Linked DNA regions of Homo sapiens: all the other regions are linked to region 2. The links are contacts of gene promoters, found by promoter capture Hi-C in blood cells and fetal thymus (Javierre and others, 2016). All regions are on one chromosome and are shown on one strand. Each heading gives the region's core, a stretch centred on a gene start or on the middle of the fragment in contact. The rest is flanking DNA. Distances are from core to core; before and after follow the strand shown. Region 1 overlaps OMA1 (OMA1 zinc metallopeptidase). Region 2 holds the start of FYB2 (FYN binding protein 2). Region 3 has its middle 180 kb from the start of DAB1-AS1. Region 4 has its middle 150 kb from the start of MIR4422. Region 5 has its middle 140 kb from the start of MIR4422. Region 6 has its middle 51 kb from the start of MYSM1.

What was found. Contacts are between HindIII fragments. The CHiCAGO score rates a contact against its expected background, and 5 or more counts as called.
Region 1: a contact is called between a fragment that was not itself captured here and the fragment with the promoter of FYB2 in region 2, in 1 of 17 cell types (naive CD8 T cells). The highest score is 5.0, in naive CD8 T cells.
Region 3: a contact is called between a fragment that was not itself captured here and the fragment with the promoter of FYB2 in region 2, in 6 of 17 cell types (naive CD4 T cells, M2 macrophages, total CD4 T cells and 3 more). The highest score is 7.9, in naive CD4 T cells.
Region 4: a contact is called between a fragment that was not itself captured here and the fragment with the promoter of FYB2 in region 2, in 4 of 17 cell types (M2 macrophages, M1 macrophages, naive B cells and 1 more). The highest score is 10.7, in M2 macrophages.
Region 5: a contact is called between a fragment that was not itself captured here and the fragment with the promoter of FYB2 in region 2, in 1 of 17 cell types (M2 macrophages). The highest score is 10.9, in M2 macrophages.
Region 6: a contact is called between a fragment that was not itself captured here and the fragment with the promoter of FYB2 in region 2, in 1 of 17 cell types (naive B cells). The highest score is 6.1, in naive B cells.

What each region holds. Positions count from the first base shown.
Region 1 is chr1:58,495,170-58,498,175 of GRCh38, reverse strand. The region is part of intron 8 of OMA1 (OMA1 zinc metallopeptidase); the gene reads left to right. It also overlaps a transcript of DAB1 not described here. Among named protein-coding and RNA genes, the nearest start is that of OMA1, 50 kb to the left of the region's middle. The HindIII fragment of the contact is 533 bases long and covers 1,117-1,649 here.
Region 2 is chr1:56,818,035-56,821,033 of GRCh38, reverse strand. It overlaps FYB2 (FYN binding protein 2), which reads left to right and starts at 1,630. Exons shown (of 20, transcript NM_001004303.5): 1 at 1,630-1,752. The coding sequence starts at 1,744. The HindIII fragment of the contact is 7,052 bases long and covers 1-2,999 here.
Region 3 is chr1:58,038,412-58,041,111 of GRCh38, reverse strand. It overlaps a transcript of DAB1 not described here. Among named protein-coding and RNA genes, the nearest start is that of DAB1-AS1, 180 kb to the right of the region's middle. The HindIII fragment of the contact is 1,936 bases long and covers 360-2,295 here.
Region 4 is chr1:55,378,339-55,381,424 of GRCh38, reverse strand. No RefSeq gene overlaps it. Among named protein-coding and RNA genes, the nearest start is that of MIR4422, 150 kb to the right of the region's middle. The HindIII fragment of the contact is 1,319 bases long and covers 723-2,041 here.
Region 5 is chr1:55,361,245-55,364,225 of GRCh38, reverse strand. No RefSeq gene overlaps it. Among named protein-coding and RNA genes, the nearest start is that of MIR4422, 140 kb to the right of the region's middle. The HindIII fragment of the contact is 685 bases long and covers 1,014-1,698 here.
Region 6 is chr1:58,648,087-58,650,806 of GRCh38, reverse strand. No RefSeq gene overlaps it. Among named protein-coding and RNA genes, the nearest start is that of MYSM1, 51 kb to the left of the region's middle. The HindIII fragment of the contact is 987 bases long and covers 974-1,960 here.

The DNA.
Region 1 (3,006 bases), core at 134-2,633, 1.7 Mb before region 2:
GCTTAATGAGCCCCTATTTTTCACCCACTGATATTGAACAGTATAATCCTTTTATACACTTGCTTCATCTGTCCCATCTCTGTTTTTCTCAGAAGTATTTTGATATAAAGCCCAGATATCAGGGCCTTATAGGGGAGGAGAAAATAATTTTCTCTCTATGCTTCATAGTTCTTAGTTGAGATGAACCCCTGTATTAAAAGACAGATTAACAAGAGGGAAATGGAAGCTTTTTAACATGTATACTTCCTGTATACCTGGGAGATACCCATGGAATGAATAATTCTCCAAGAGGTGGCTTTGAGTTCAGGTGTAAATACCATCTTCAACTGAAACTAAGACAGAAAGGTGCAGGGAAAGCCGCCACGTTGTAGAGAGGTGGTCAGGAAAAGCAGTGAGCAAGGGTAAGGTTTGTTATGTAGATTGTACCTTCTTTGTTGATAAGAGTTTCCAGTGATTTAGAGTCATCCTTCTCTTTCTGGTACAGAGAGGGAGACATACTTGCAAATTAGAGATTTCCTTCGTAGATACATATTTCTCTGAGAAAACGGTAACTTCTTCTTCCTGTTTTCAGAACTTCCCCTATGTCTGCTATTGCCCAAAATAATTAGTAGAAAATAACTCTTATGCTAAAGAGGCATATTTGGGGTGGCATAGTCTGGTCTCCTGGAGTCTTATTTTGGAATGATATGTCCTGAACTCCATCAACTTTAGTATGCATTTCAGAAAGTAGTATCATTTTCTTCCATAATCATAACATTATCATGCCTAAGGAAACTCATAGTAATTCCTTAAAATTAAATATTCTGTCTACATCAGATTTCTGTATCTCAGCAGTGTTACAGTTGGCCTGTTTAAATTAGGATACTTCATGATCCACACATTGCATTTGGTCCTTACGTCCCTAAAGTCCTTTTGACTTTAGGACAGTACCCCCCTCCCTTTTGTTTTGTTTGTTTTAAAACTTGTCATTGAATTGGTGAGTACATATAATCCCACATTGTAGATTCTGGATTAACTTGATTGCTTCTTCGTGGTATTTCTAACTTGTTTCTATATATACCTGTAAATAGAGATTAAATTTTGGGAAGGATATTTTATAGGTGATGCAACTAAGCTTCATAGTGCTTTGCATTGGAAGTCTCTTAATACCTGGCTGCCCCACATCTGGTGATGCTGAAGGCCATCAGTGGGTTGGATGGTGATGGCCTGGTTCTTTGTTTGCAAAGGTGGTTTTCTTCCTTGTGGCCAGCAAGTGATTGTGGGGTGATAATTTAGCACCACCCTGCAAATAATCAGTTTTCAAACAACCTGAGAAATGTGTCTTCACGAGAAATCTATGTAGAATCTATTTAGAACTCAGACCAGCCAAATTAACCCTAATGGAATAAAAGATGTTGCAGACACTTTTATCTTATTCAGGAATAGACTTAAGAGGTAGGTAAGAGAGACTTTTAAAAAATCAGAACGGTAAGTGTACAAGAGTTGGAAAAACAGAGTTGAAAGGAAAAATGAGGATAATCTTATTTAAAAGATTATTGAATGTCTAAGTGCCTTTAATAACTCCACAAGGACCCTCATGTAAACAAAATTCAGCAATAGCAACAAAACAAAGCCTCTGAAATGCTCATTGTTCCCCAGTGAGATAAGCTTTAAAGAGCAGAAATACGAAAAACAAAACCAAATCTCAAGTCAAACTTAAAAATGTTACTTTATGGGAGAGGACAGGCAAGGCGGCAAGAACATAGAAGCAGTGCCACCTGAAGCTGGCATGATAAGGTTGATTTAACTGCACTGAAAGTGACAGAATCTGAAAGAACGACTTTACAAATGTAAGATAAATCCATTTCAGAAAATTGTTAAACTTGTGAATTCAACAGAGAAGCTGTAAAACTTTCGGTGGAGGCTGTAAAGAGCAGAATTGATACCTCAGAGCAAAGACTCATTGATGCGGAAGATAGAGGAACATAGCACAACCAAATTAAAATGCCCAAAGCCAAAAAAAAAAAGTCTAAAAAAATGAAAGAATATTGAAAAGGCACCAGGAAATCCAAGCTGCATATAACAATGGGAAAGATACATTTGTACATGTCTTCATTTCTTTGATTGTGGTTTCTATATCATATTTTTTTATTTAGTTAACATTTCTCAAGATGGGTTTTTAGGAGATTCCCAGAGTATCATCCATGGGAAGCCCTGAAATGACAAGCTTAGATATTTAAACTTATGAAGTGTTTAATCTTCATTGCAAAGACAGGCTTTTACAAGCTACCTAGGTAAAAAGGCATACAAGAGTAAGAATGACTCTGGACCTTTCTTTTCATAAGCATAAGGAAGATATTTCTTTCCTCCTAAGTTCTTATACTTCTTGCTGTTGGAGGAAGTGTAAGAGTTTTGGAGGAAAGAAACAAAACAAAAAACAGTGGAACTAATACACTTTGGTATGATATCTACAAAAACTAACTTTTTTTTTTTTTATGGTGGAAGATCCTTAGCAAATGAAACACATAGGACAATATGTCAGTGAAGTTCTTGGTTGCAACAGTGCTCTTTCCAGAATCTACTGACAATCAGGAATTAGATAAAATATACAGTTTTGTTTGTTTAAATATAATTGTAACTAGCTTGCACCCTGCCATTGTTAGAAAACCACAGATCAAGTAAGGAACTACCAAAAAATTCAGCTGAATAATATGAAAAATAAAATTTAAGTGGCATGAGAAACTAAATCCTAAAAAAAGGAATGTATTATTATTATTATTATACTTTAAGTTTTAGGGTACATGTGCACAACATGCAGGTGTGTTACATATATATACATGTGCCATGTTGGTGTGCTGCACCCATTAACTCGTCATTTAACATTAGGTATATCTCCTAATGCTATCCCTCCCTCCTCCTCCCACCCCACAACAGACCCCTGTGTGTGATGTTCCCCTTCCTGTGTCCATGTGTTCTCATTGTTCTGTTCCCACCTATGAGTGAGAACCTGCAGTGTTTAGTTTTTTG
Region 2 (2,999 bases), core at 381-2,880:
TTCAGAAATAGGCCCCCCAACTGACTGGGAGCAGAGTCTACACAGCAGTGTTGGCCAAACAGAGAGTCATGAAGTCAAGAAAGTGCTACCATTTATTTAATTCAATGGCATGTCATGGCTCAGAACAGAATGGAAAATATCAGCACGATTACACAAGGTAAGAGTGAGTACTGCTTTGGGGAGTTTTTCTTTTAGCTGATGTGTATGTGTGTTGAGGAAGGATGTAAAAGGTACATCTTACTGTGAGTCATTCATTAATAAAGTTTAAAATACATAGACCTCAAAGGCTTTTATAAAACCCAAACTGCCAGTCCCTGGGCCAGAAGCATTGATGCAGTGTTTTGTCTGGGACTTGAATCCTGTATTTTTGATAGATTCCCAGGCAGCTCTGGTGATCAGCCAGGTTTGGGAATCACCTGTTAGAGGAAATGGCCCTCAGGCGGGGTCTCCTCACCTGTGCTCCACCCCGCCTCTCCCTGGTCAGGACAGGAGAAGATTTCTAAGAACTTGACAAAGCAAGAAAAGTCACACCGGTTACACATAAAGCAGGGCGCAGGCCACCCACTCTGCCCATCCCCAACCCCGGGAGAGCTGAAAGCCCCAAAACTGGCAACTGAGGTTTGGGTTTCCATCTCCAGCTCTGTCAGAAAAACAAACAAACAAAAATAACCCCAGCAAAATAAAATCACTTTAGAGTCAGCCAGATCTGGGTTCCAACCCTGGCTCTTCTAGTTACTACCTATGTGACCATGGGCAGGTGTTACCATCTCTCTGAGACTCAGTTTCCTCACTTTTTTTTTTTTTTTTGAGACGGAGTCTCACTCTGTCCCCCTGGAGTGCAGTGGCATGATCTCGGCTCACTGCAACGTCTGCCTCCCAGGTACAAGCAATTCTCCTGCCTCAGCCTCCCAAGTAGCTGGGATTACAGGCACCCACTACCACACCTGGCTAATTTTTTTTATATTTTTGGTAGAGACAGGGTTTCACCATGTTGGCCACGCTGGTCTCAAACTCCTGACCTCAAGTGATCCACACACCTCGACCTCCCAAAGTGCTGGGATTGCAGGTGTGAGCCACTGCACCCGGCCATTCTTCACCTTTTAAAATGGGAATCCAAATGCCTCAATAAACACCAGGCCAAAAACAGGGTGCTCCTTTATGTTAACTCCTTTTCTGGCCTCCACTAAATCCCCCTGTGGGCTTAGGCATGCTGTCCTGCTGGGCTTTGGTTTCCCTGACCGTGAGAAAGGGTTTGTGAAATTAAGTAGCCGTCTGCAGGGGCGGAGCTGGCAGAGGTTGTTACTAACGGGGATCACACTGTCCAGCCTGCATGGTCTGTACTAACAGGAGCCTGCCATCCCCATTCCTTCACAGCTCCTGCTGCCTGGGCACAAATGCCCTGGAGAGTGAGTGACTGTCAGACCAGCCGGAGGGGAGCAACGGGAAGAGCCGCTTGCTGAGAAGAGGTGGGCTTGGCAGGACTGCAGGTGGAGTACTCTCCCCAGTCCCCTGCAGGTGCTGGTCTAAGCCAAGCTGGGAGGATGGCGGCCGGCCCTGGCCCAGCCCCAGGCAAGGGAGGAGCCTCGGCCCAGATGGGGCAGGTGGGGAGCCTGGGCTCAGGTGTGTCCTGTGGGAAGTGATTGCTCCCTGGCTAGCAGAGACAGAGGAAAGCGGATTGTTGGCCCCAGGACCCAGCTCTGAGAGGCTGGGCTTGTTTCCCTGACTCTGCCTTGGAGGAAAGCAATGGAAGGGGTAAGGCTGTCTCAGTTTTGTTGCTGGCTTTCTGTGTGTCTTTTCTTGCAGGACAAGTTCCTCCCACTTGAGAGCCCTGGGGAAAAACTGCTTGTGTGTGCTGCCTCCTGGGCAGGAATAAACATGTCAGGTGTCAGCCAGTGCATTTCTGCTCACACTGGCTTTGCTCAGGGCGGGTGGGAGGGAAGAGGAGTGTGCCATGTCCTGTGCCACCTGGAGTGTGAGGGGACAGGAGGTGCTGAGGAATGACAGCATGTGGCCTAGCTCTACCCAGCCAGCTGGACTCCTGACCTATTCCCAGATCCTCCGTTGAAGCGCCCGCTGGCTTCTCTCTGTGTTTACTTGCCCTTGTGGACTGTATCTGGCCTCTGCAGTGATTAGCGGGCCTCCTGGTCAGAGAGCAGTGCTTGGTGCTAGGAAGCCGGCTGTGCATTGCTCTTTTGTGGCTTGTGGCTCTAGACCGGGTTCTGCTCCTTGTTAACTGTGTGGCCTGGGGCAAGTGTGTCCGTCATCCTGAGCCCTGGGTCCCTCACTCATGAAAGAGAATTACTGGTACAATAACTACTTTGTGAGACTATCAGAGGTGCTTGTATAAATAGAGATGTATGGAAAAGTATCCTGCCCTACGCCAGCATTCCCTGCCCCTTGGATGGCTGAGTGCTGTTGGCACAGTTGGAGACGTCTTGCCTGACTGACCACATCTTCCTTTTTCCTTCTCCAATTCTCCACTCTCCTCTATTTCCGTCTTCAGTAAGTCAGTTTCTTTTGATGTGCGTGTGCATGTGTGTGTGTGTGTGTGTGTGTGTGTGTGTGTGTGTGTGTGTGTTGCTTCCATACTTTTTATTATATATTTGGAGTCAAGTCATTTTCTCCCATGAATCATGTGGCTTCTCACCCACAAGTTTGGTTTTAAATCAGGGCAGAGGATCCATTTTAGCTTTTGCTGGTCAGGAAAAGCTCCCCTTTGTCTCAGGGCAAAGGGCATGTTTCTCTCTGTGGCAAATCACTCCAGTCCAAATAGCTGAGTTTTGGAAAGGGGTGAGCAGGGGCATGTTGGTATGACTTCATCTCCCTCCTCTGAGTTCTCCCCGCCACCCCCACCTCGACCATACCACTTAGCAATTTTTAAGAAACTCCTCCTTGACGGGAAAGTGCCAGGCTGAATAGATTTAGCGTGCTTGTAAGAAAAGGAAACTGACTTACATTTTCCCCATCTCTGATGGGCCAGGATCCGCACTGGCATCCAT
Region 3 (2,700 bases), core at 78-2,577, 1.2 Mb before region 2:
TGGGTTTGGAAAAAAGATTATTAGGAGAGTATGTTTCAGATAGGCAGCAAAGCATGTGCAAAGATGCAGAGCTAGAGACCAGTGTAGCTGTTTACGGAACTGTAATGTATCCAGGGGGTGATGCATAGGTCTGATGAAGTTGGAACAGGTGAGGTTGGGGAGTTCAGCAAGAGCCAATCCCCGGGGTCCCAGGTGCAACCTTTAGGAGGTTGGACACAATTCTGTAGTTAATTAGGACTCTCTGAGAGTTGTGAGGTTCAGGAAAAGAAGAGAGAATTGAAGTGGATGCCTTTTGTTGCACTTTGTGCTGTTATGTTTATTTTGAAGAGAAAAAATATGAATACATCAGAAACTAAGCTTTCATGAGATTGACATTAGACTGCAGTTTCTGTACATTCAAATAGAATATTATGAGCTAATTCTATTTAGACATGTGGTATATTTTTAACTCTGTGATTCCTCTTCCAATGTTCTCAATCCGCAGGAAACTCATTTAGCCTGAAGGTTCTGAACCAATTACACAGTTTTATAAGGTCAAAATAAAAGTTGGGAGTCATTTTATTTTTATCTGTACTGGTAGAAATTACAGAATCAAACTGCTTTAATAAGAAAAAACACCAGGATGAGAAAAGTGAAAATAGAAGTGTCAGCACCATCAGAGATTTCTGCTGCGTCTTGGATGCCGGCAGATGAGACCAGGGTTGGGCTGTGAAGTCCTTTGACAACCCCGTCTATATCCCTGAACAAGTTACCAGGGCTTCAAGAGGGATAGACATGAAACACAACATCCTTCCACTCTTATTAAGATTTAATCATGCTTTCAACAGGATTGCAATGTTATTAAATTAGATTTTTTTTCTTCCTTAAAAAGGGATTTAACTTTTGCTTTCCTGACATCATAATCAACATGGAACAGATGCAAAGGGGAATTGGGTGACCACTGGTAATATGGACCTATACTTAACATGTAGCATGTGAAGTTACTAAAATGGAAATTAATTCCTTTTATTACTATCGTGCCCTATCAATTAATTTGGTTGGAGATGCTTATGAATATGCAATCATTCCTCCCAGCTGCCCACCCCTTATTCTACGTGTGTGGAAAGCACTGGTGAAGCAATAGGTAAAATTTTATATATTTTTTTGCTAGTTTTGCTAGCACTGTTCCTCTTTGCTTCCTAACAATAATGGATAATATTGATAACTAATAGTTATTAAAATCTTCCCATGTCCCAAGCACTTTTGTAAGTACTTCATATTTATTGTTTTATTCAACCTCGACAATAAATTATTAAGATGGGTACTTTTATTATCCCTGTAGAAAGAAGAGAAAAATGGGACAGAAAAAGGTGAGGAAATCTTTTCTAGGTGGCCCAGGCATTCTGACCCCTGTACTCTTCACTACCGGGCCACACTGCCTCTTACTGGCTCCAGGTGCAAGGACTTGGGGAGAGGCCAAAGTCTCAGATGTCAAACTCCTGTAGGCTGAAAAAGAATGTGGGGGACGGGGGATGGAACAGAAGGCTCTGAGCGGGGGTCAAGTATTTTCAAATATAGGTTCTGTTATTATTTTGGTATGGCAAGGCCAACAGATCAGGAGATGACTCCCATTGAAAAGATAGCTTGTTACACTCACAGACCCCAAGACAAAGTGCCATGCCTTGTGGGGGTGCACACTCAAGGCACCAGGATTGCTCAGGAGGTAGAGGGAAGGCAGGACCCTGATCAAGAGCCTTTATTGTGGTTTCTGTGGGAAGGAACAGGTGAGGCAGTTTGGCTGGTTTAGATAATTTAGCAGGCTCTGGGGAATAGAGGCTGTCCCCACTGTCTGGTTCCTGGCTCAGGTATAGGGGCAAGTGGATAAATGGGCTAGAGTAGATAAAGGAGGTGGTTGGGGATATGGATTCTAGAGCGATTGGTTAACATTTGAAAGGTGAGCTCCTGAGAGAGTTTGTTACTATCTCTAGGAATTAGCTAAGCCTGGGAATGGAGTAGCAGTCTGCAGTAACAGCAAGGCCCCAGACATCAAAGCATCAGAAATACAGAAACTAAAGAGACATAGTTAACAGAGTCGGGGCTTAGTGGGGTTGGTGTGGGGAGCAGAGTGGGCTGTGGAGGCTCCCTAGGGAAGGCAAGGAGGGTGGGATGGCCAGTAAGAAATTAAGACCCGAACGTACATATGATGGTCTCCATTGAGGGATGGGGAATTGGAGACACTGAAATTAAGCGTTGAAGTATCTTTGGTCTTTTGATATTATTCATAGCACATATTTAACTTTCTACATGTATTAAGCTTTGCAGGGAAGGGTGTTATGACTCATCATTGCAGCTGGGCATTGCTTCCTTGGGAGCAGGGACCTTCCTTTGTGTTAATCCACCTTGCACTACCCTGAAGATCTGATGTGAGGCTTGCTCTCCCAGAATGGAAGGGCTCTGTTTCACCTGCAGTTTTTAAATCCTGGCCCCAATAACACCCCATCAGGGCAGGTCTCTCTTTAAGTGCCAGTTGCATGCTTTGGATTTGGTAAAAAAAGGAGCTTATTAAACCCAGGTGAGAGGAAGCCCTGGTGAAGAACCACGGTCATGGCTGAGTGCTCAGTTGGTAACCGCTGATTCACAAATGTTTCCTTTTCTCTTTCCTTTAAAAAAGGCAAGAGAAATTATGTGACAGGAACCAAGATAGTACTACAGGTTTGTTTT
Region 4 (3,086 bases), core at 133-2,632, 1.4 Mb after region 2:
TGAGAGCAAATGACTTAAACCTTAAGGTACTTAGGGAAGATCAAGGCCGGGCACATGGTCAACAGCTGATAAATGTTAGCTATTGGTAAGATGAATTAGAGCCATGTGTCAAGAGAGCTACTCTAAAGGACCAGTGAGAGTGCTGTGCAACCTTGGAAGAGGGCAGGAGGGAAGGTCTAGGGCCATCTTACAGGAGTGGAGGCATTCGATCCAGCAGAGCTCAAAGGCTGAAGTGTGCTTGAAGCCCAAGAGAGTGGGACAGTGGAGGGCAGTGCATGGGGAAAGATAGATGGGTCCCAGGTTGTGGACGACATCACAAACGGACTAAGGATTTAGACTTCATCCAGAGGCAATGGGATCCGTCCAAGGGTTTTCAGTAGGGACTAACCTGATCAGACTTAGAGAGGGGACTCTAGAGCAGAAAAAGAATGGCCTAGAAGGGACATCACAGTGGCAGTTAGACCAGACCCACCAGGAGAGAGCTAGCTAACAAGGCTGGCTGGGGCAATAATGAAGAGGAAGGAAGGAGAGGAGTCTCCATGGCCCACGGACAGATCTCAGTGAGGAGGGAGGAGGAGTTCACGGGGTCTCTCAGCTCCCTTCAGCTCTGACATTCTGGGATTGTAGATTTCCTCCAAGACCCTCCACGTGGCCACAGCTGGGCAGCATGCACACTTTGAGGATCTTATTCCAGCTCCTTGGAGCTCATGAAGCAAAAAGCTTCCCTGGGGGGAGTTTGGAAGTCTCTTCATTGGCTGTGCTGTTTCCTCCCATCTCTCTCCAAAAAGTCAGGGGAATTACAATCAAAGCTAGAGCCAGGCCTGGTCAGGGACAAGGAGGGGCGGAGGCCATTCTCTAAATCCAAGGGGATCTGCATCCCCACCAGATAGCTTCATGCTCTCAGCTTCCATCAATCACACTCATGGCCTCCATCCCAACTGCATGCAGCAATCTCTGCTGTAAACACTGTTTGTTGCTCCAAGAGGTTCATCATACTTGGAGAGGCTCTGCCACAAAGCATGCTGGGAGCTTGATGAGGTTGGACCAAGGGAGGATGAGGCAGCAGACTTAGGACTGGGTGATAAACAAGTAAGAGATGCTGTCCCTTCTGGAGAAAGTGTGCCAAAGGAAGAAAGCAGAAGGGAGCTAGTATTTATTGAGGGCCTTCTCCTGGCTGGGTGCTTTGTAGGTATCCTCCTAATCTGTCATATCAACAACCCAGCAAGGGAGCTTTTGTTACTATCATTTTGCCAATGATAACGTTGAAAATTAGAATGTTAAGTGATTTGCCTAATTTCTACAGGGATTAAATGGCATGAGCGGATTCTGACCCAAATTCATTAGCCTCCAAAACCTGTGCATTCATTTATTTATTTATTTATTCATCCAACAAAAATATTTCATGGGCCTACTATGTGCCAGGCACTGTATCAGAGACCAGAGATCCAAGACACATACATTTCTCAGCCATTTCATGGGAGAGACAAACAATATCAAGTTAATAAATGAACAAGATAACTCCAGGTGGTGATACATTGTGAAGCATATAAAATAAGGTGAGCCGATCTAGAGCCAGGTTGTTCAAATGCGGCCTAGATTCCAAATCTTGCCCATGGTCTGTCTTTGTGTGGAAGTGAAAGCTAAGAATGGTTTTTATATGTTTAAAGGGTTGTAAAACAAACAAAAGAAAATATGCAAGAGAGATAGTATATGTCTCACAAAGTCTAAAATATTTACTATCTGAGCAGACAAAGTTGTCAGCCCCTAGTTAAGAGACTGAAGGGGCATCCTTGGTAGTGGATGGTGGAGAGGAAGGACAGGAGGCTCCCAGGCCCACTGACAGGCCTTGGTGAGGAAGGAGGGCAAAGGGGGATTGGGAGGGTTACAGAGTCTTTCAGGGAAGAGACTCTAAGTGGAGGTGATTTTGAACTGAGACCTAATGATGGAAAAGAACCACCAGCTGAAGAGACCCACAGAATGAGAACTCCAGGTAGAAGGAACAGCAAATGAATGTGCAAAGGCTTTGAGGTAGAAACAAGCTTAGCATGTTCAAGAAACAAAAAGAAGACCAATGTCCCTCGAGTGCAGGAAACAAGAGGGAAAGTGCTGCCAGCTGAGCTCAGGGGCAAGCAGGAAGCAGGTGACATAAGACTTTCTGGGCCAAGACGAGGAGTGTCCTTTCCACTAGGCCCTGCCCTGTGGTGTGGCAAAATCAAATGAGAATCTAGTGGATGTCAGTCTGGCTGGGGTGTCAGTATGTCAGTATCACAGTCTAGTGGTTCAAGGACAGTCATCAGAATCTGGGTGCAAGAGACACTTGAGTCAAACAGGTGGTAGCACCAACTCCCAGATGATGTGGTCATTTAGCTTAGGACCGTCCCCAGTGGTCAGAGGGTACCAGGAAGATGCTCCAGGATGAACAGGGTTTCAGGAGCTTGGCAGGCTGTCAGGACTCTTGCCAAACGAACTGGGATTCAAGGTAGGGCTTGAGCTCCAACAGGAAATGGAGAAATAAATACGACAAACCACGAATGACAGATGATGTGATGGAGTTGATGGTTAAAAACAGAGACTTCCTGAGCGTTTGGCTACCCTGGCCTTACCGCTCCACATCAAGCCCTGGGACCATGCCACATATACTGGCCTCCTGCCCACCGTGTATGCCCTATTCTGGTCAGGTAAGACTCAGGAAATGAGTGGGGCCGATCCAGGGAGAGGAGAGCAACAGCGACTCCTCCTGGAAGGAGCTGGAGAGGTAGATGCTGGTAAAACTGCAGAAAGTGAGTTTACATGGCTAATCACTGCTGCATCCGTGGTATGGCCATCTGTGCAAGCACGCTACAGGGGACTTATCCACTTTCACAGGTAAATTCCTATATGATCTGCTTGCCCAATTCCTGGCCATGGGGAGGGAGAGGAGAGAATCATCCGTGTGGATCAACTGTAACATTTTGTACTTTGGCGACCACTTAGTTTAAAATGCCTGTTCTCCTAAGCGTGTCCCCAGGCAAAATGTGTGCTGTAATTTGATTTTTTAAAAACAACTTTTATTGTTTTTTTTCTTATTATAAGAGCAACACATGTTC
Region 5 (2,981 bases), core at 107-2,606, 1.5 Mb after region 2:
TACTGGAAAGCCACCATCATAACCCAGAAACTCCTCATTCTCAACCATTAAGAACCCTGCCCAGCCTTCCCTTGGTTTTAATCCCGCTGATGACATGGATTTGGTGTTTCTGGTTAGCCTGATGGTAAAAGCTCTTGTAGGAAGTCTGTTTTTTTTATTTTGCCACCAACTCTCTTCCAAACCAGATGCATTAATATAAGAGGTGACTGGTGAAGCTGTTTCCAGTCATGCAATTTCTCCAGAGCTCATCCATTCAGTCAGAAAATCTTGGTGCAAACCTACCATGTTCCAGGCCCTAGGTTGACCCTGAGATTCAAAGATAATTAGCACATCCATCCACACTTCTTCTAATGCCATGGAAGCCTTATCTTGTTTATGGCCTCTGTCTTATTCTGTATTTTAATGATGAACAGCTGGTCAACGTCATCTATATGATAATTCATCATTCAATCATTTATTTTTTTGCACAAAAATTTGTCCCTAGATAATCCTCAATGATGGATTTCTATTGGAATTCAGTTCAATATCCAGATGTGTAAGTATGTTTAGGAGAGTCACCAGACCCTTGGAACCAAACTTGTTTTAACTTGATTCAACTACAAAGACCTTTCTGAGACCCCGCTTAAGTTTAATATTGCTTTCCTGAGGCTTGTCTGTTCTCTAGTGCCTCTTATCATAGGTTCTTCCAAGCCACCTGTTATAGTTGACCCAGTTTCACTACCCAAGAACTGGAGAGTCATTTCCTGTTGTAAGTACTGGAAGAGATTTTAAGAAGATGATACAGAGCAGCTGTTTTCTCAAGCCACAGAAAGTAGAACAAAAGAAAGAGCCCTGGCCAGGAATGAAGAGACTTGGGTTCTTGTCTATGCAGACTCCACCTTGCTAAGTGGCTATCAGGAAGCTTCTTAAGTCTGGACCCATCACTATGTTCTCCCTCCAAACCTCACACCCAATCCTTCACCCAATCCTACCCCTTTTTCAGAGTTTTCTTTTCCAAGGTTTTTACTCAAGCTTTATGAAGGATTATAGGATCTAATTTCCACTGTGATGTTATTTTATGACCATGTGAGCCATTATTAGAAGTCAGTAGTTCTAGAAGGGACTTGAACAAATGCTCCATTTATACTTTCTTGCTCTAACAACATTTTCATTTCCTGAGCACTTATGCTGACTCCAGCCCTTTGCTGGGGACCAGAAAGACAAAGATGAAATAAGATTGGCCATCAATACTAAAGGGAGCTCTGGGAGTTCAGAGGGAAACCTAACCCATCCTGAGGGAAACAAGATAAACTTGGTAAGAGATAGCATTGCCTTAGCTGGCTCTGGAAAGGAGAGTGTGGATCATCTAGAAAGAAATAAGTGCTAAGCACAGGGAGCCATGAGCAACTGCACGGAGTTGTGAGTGGCATAACTAGGAACTTACCAGAAGTGTGAAGTTACTAGAAGAAAAACTTGGGAGGCTGGGACAGTCAGATGAGGATGACTAAGAGAAACAGAGTCGCGTTTCAAAGGCCTTGCAAGCCAAAAATGAGATCATTCCTCAGCCACAACCTTTTAATGGCTTCCTCTGCACCCAAATTAAGATCCAAATTCCAATTAATACTGAAAACATTGGACTGCTGCCTGCATTTCTTTCTTTTATCAGGTCTCTCAGAGGTTCTTTAGGGAAGTACAAATTATTCTGACTGTAGAGAAGCTTTATCTCCTCTATTTTTAGAGTATATGGAAATTATATGTAAGTACATTATTATTATTTCAGGCATATAAAAAGTATCAACAACAGTATAATAAGCATCTGCATAACTCTCACTTGTATTAAGGATTAAAATATTACAGATATACTTGATGTCGTCCTCCCTAATCTCATTCCCTTCCCTGCATCCCAGAGGAAACCACTGTCCTGAAGTTTATGTCATTCTCTTTCATATTTTTATATTTCTATCACATATGTATTTATAAAACAGTAATACTACTTTTGTGGGTTTTTAAACTTTAGCAAATAGCCTTGATTCTCCTAATGACTTGCTTCCTTCACTCAACATAGTTTTTGAGACTTACCCAATTGATATATGCAATCGAATTTCATTCATTCTAATGATGTATAGTATCATGAATACAGAAATACACAATTTATTTTAGCCATTCTCATAGGGATGAACATTTAGGTTATTTTCAAACCAAGCCTTGATTCTCCTAATGACTTGCTTCCTTCACTCAACATAGTTTTTGAGACTTACCCAATTGATATATGCAATCGAATTTCATTCATTCTAATGATGTATAGTATCATGAATACAGAAATACACAATTTATTTTAGCCATTCTCATAGGGATGAACATTTAGGTTATTTTCAAACCAGTCATGGTGGTGTGCACATGGAGTCCCAGGTACTTAGGAGGCCAAGGCAGGAGGATCACTTTACCCCAGGAGTTCAAGTCCAGCCTGGACAACATAGTGAGACCCCTGTCTCTAAAAATAAAAAATAGCTTATTTCCAATGTCTTTCTATTATAAACAAGGCTGCTATTTTTCTCTATTTCTCTATGCATGTATGCAAGATTTCTCTGAGAAATGTACCTAAGAGTGAGGTCCCTGGTGATAAGATCTATACATCTTCAACTTCACTAGCTGTCTTTGTTAGGACTGCTGTAACAACTTACCATTGGGTAGCTTAAACAACAAATATTTATTCCTCACATTCTGGAGGCTGGAAGTCCAAGGTCAGGGTGCCAGCAAGATCAGGTTCTAGCGAGGGCTCTCTTATAGGTTACAGATTGCCAGCTTCTCCTTGTGTCCTCACATGATGGAAAGAGAGCCAGTTAGGTTTCTGGCTTCTTTTATAAGGACACTAATCCCAATCATGAAGGCTCTACCCTCATGACCTAATCACCTCCCAAAGGCTCCAAATACCACCATACTGAGGATTAGATTTCAACACATGAATTTGGAAGGGGACACAGACATTCAGTCCATTGCAGTAG
Region 6 (2,720 bases), core at 218-2,717, 1.8 Mb before region 2:
CGGAGAAGCCACATCTCTTCATTATCTTAAGTGCAATGAGCACTTCAAGAGACATGAATCAACTGATTAGCAAGGGCAGCCTACTCCAGGAGAGGTATTCTCTTGCAATTTTCTCAAAAACACAAAGGCAGGTGAGATTATAACACTATAAACATAATTGCATTTTCTAATCAAAAGTGCAACATAACTTGGGTAATTATGAGGCGTCAGCGGTGTTACCACTTTATATCCTGAGTATTTTTATCACTACGAGTTGGGTAGCAACTGCTCAAACATTTTCATCCATCACCTTGTGTTCTCTTCTGTGGGGTTCATACATGGAAAACAAAATGAAAAAAAAAACCAAAAAACAGAAAAAACAGGCAAAAGGGTAGAATCCATTTAAAGATGACTAAGGTGCCTTAGTCATGCTGGATTTGAGGTCCAGCAGTGGGATGGGTTCTGCATTTTCTGGGCAAGTGATTTTTCTGTCAGGCAAACAGGACTAGGTGCATCATCCACAGCCCTGCCTGAGGGGAGCCAGGAGAGACAGGTCCAGCTCCAGCCCACACCCAGGACCTTTCTCCACTTTGAAAGATGCCTGTGAATTGCACTTCCGTTTCACCCAGGAAATCAATGCAGCCCAGCTTCTCTGCCCAGGGCCCAGCGGAGGAAGATATATCATACTCTGGGCAGACCCAGAATGCAGTTAGTTACCGTCTCCTCCTTAGGAGGGAGAACAACAATAGAACCAAAATAGCAATGCTAAAAAGCAGACATTTGGAGGGCTTGGGGGCCTTTTGTTGCTGCAAAAGGAGAAGGAAAGGATTTTGCCATGTCCCTGGGGTTTACGCGTTCAAGAGCCCTCCCTCCTGATCCAGGGACCTGGGACAGGCTGTGGGACCTGCAGGGCTCTATGTGGCATGAAGTTCCTTCTGGTTTTGTAGAGAGACAGGGCTGTACAATAGGAGCCCTGGATTTCTGGTCAAAAGCTTTCTTGGTGAAATAGATCTGGACAGGAAGAGAAGAGAGAAAAGGCACTCTAGGCAGAAGGTGCCCCGGAAGCGGTGGCACAGTGCCAAGAATTGTAGATTTCCGTGAGGCTGGTGTGCATCGTGTGTGGCTAGGAGTCGGGGACCACAGAAGGGGATGTGGACATGGGGTCAGGTCCCCCAGGGTGTCCAATGCTATTTTAGAGAGGGGTGCTTTCATGTTCCTCATGGAAAGAGATTCAGGCAATCAACAGCCAACATCTTCAAATCCTAAAATGAAAAGGTTTCTCTAAGCCAGTAGTATTCAGACTTTTATTTAGTTAGAAATCGCTGTTGAAAACAAATCTTGCATTAAAACCAAGCATATAAAACAAGTAATAACCAAAAAATAGAAAAAACCCAACTGGATATCAACTGATAAATGGATAAATTAAACATGGTCTACCCATACAATGGAATTATTATTCAGCCACAAAGAGAAATAAAGCACTGACATATATTACAACATTAATGAGCCTTGAAAACATTATGCTTAGTGAAGAAGTCAGACATAAATGACCACATTTTGTATTATTCCATTTCTAGAAAATGTCCAGAATAAGCAAATCATAGATAGAAAAAGTAGATTAGAAGTTGCCAGAGTCTCAGGTGGGAAGAAGGGATTGGGGAGTGACTGCTAATGGATACAGGATGTCTTTTTGGGGTGATGACATGTTCTGGAATTAGTGGTGATGGTGACGGTTGTACAACCTTGTGAATATACTAAAAACCACTCCGGATACTAAAAACCACACTTAAAAGTGGTGAACTTGATGATCTATGAGTTACATCTAGAAAGAGAGAGAGACGGAGGGAGAGAGGGAAGGAAGGAAGGAACCAAGCAGAGCCGATTTGGCTGAAGGGAGGAGGCACTGGGAAGTACAGTGGCCCTTATGGTTGGCCCTGTTTATTTCCAATGTCTGCCCAATCTCTCACCCAAGTTTTAAGCTTGGCTTCCAGATCCCTGGGGAGCCAAGTAGGAGAAAAGATATAGACACCTCAAAATTGAGCATGTAAACTTTCACCTAATCCTCCAATTTTTCCCCACTCCAGAAAGGTTCTGCTTCACTTTCTCCAGAGACTGACCAGGCAGCGACTACCCTCTTGGGGGTGAGATGGTCAGTAGCCTGCTAAGGAAGCAGGAAGCCACTAAGGGATAACTACATCTTAAACCCACTTTCTCTCTCTCTCTCTCTCTCTCTCTCTCTCTCTCTCTCTGTGTGTGTGTGTGTGTGTGTGTGTGTGTGTGTGTGTGTGTGTGTGTGTGTGTGTTTGAGACAGTCTCACTGTGCCACCCAGGCTGGAGTGCAGTGGTGTGATTTCGGCTCACTGCAACCTCCATCTCCCAGGTTCAAGCGATTCTCCTGCCTCAGCCTCCTGAGTAGCTGGGATTACAGGCATTCACCACCACGCCTGGCTAATTTTTCTATTTTTAGTAGAGATGGGGTTTCAACATGTTGGCCAGGCTGGTCTCCAACTCCTGACCTCAAGTGATCCTCCCCCGGCAGCCTCCCAAAGTGCTGGGATTACAGGCGTGAGCCACCGTGCCTAGCCTTAAACCCACAACCCACCTTCTACCAGCTATCATCATTCTAGCCCCACTGGCATCCCCAATTCCAGATGTCCCTGGTGCTACAAATTCTTGAGCTTTGGGGGTTCCACAAGGTAAATCAGGTCACTTCTTGAGGGTCTGCTTCTCCCACTCTCCAG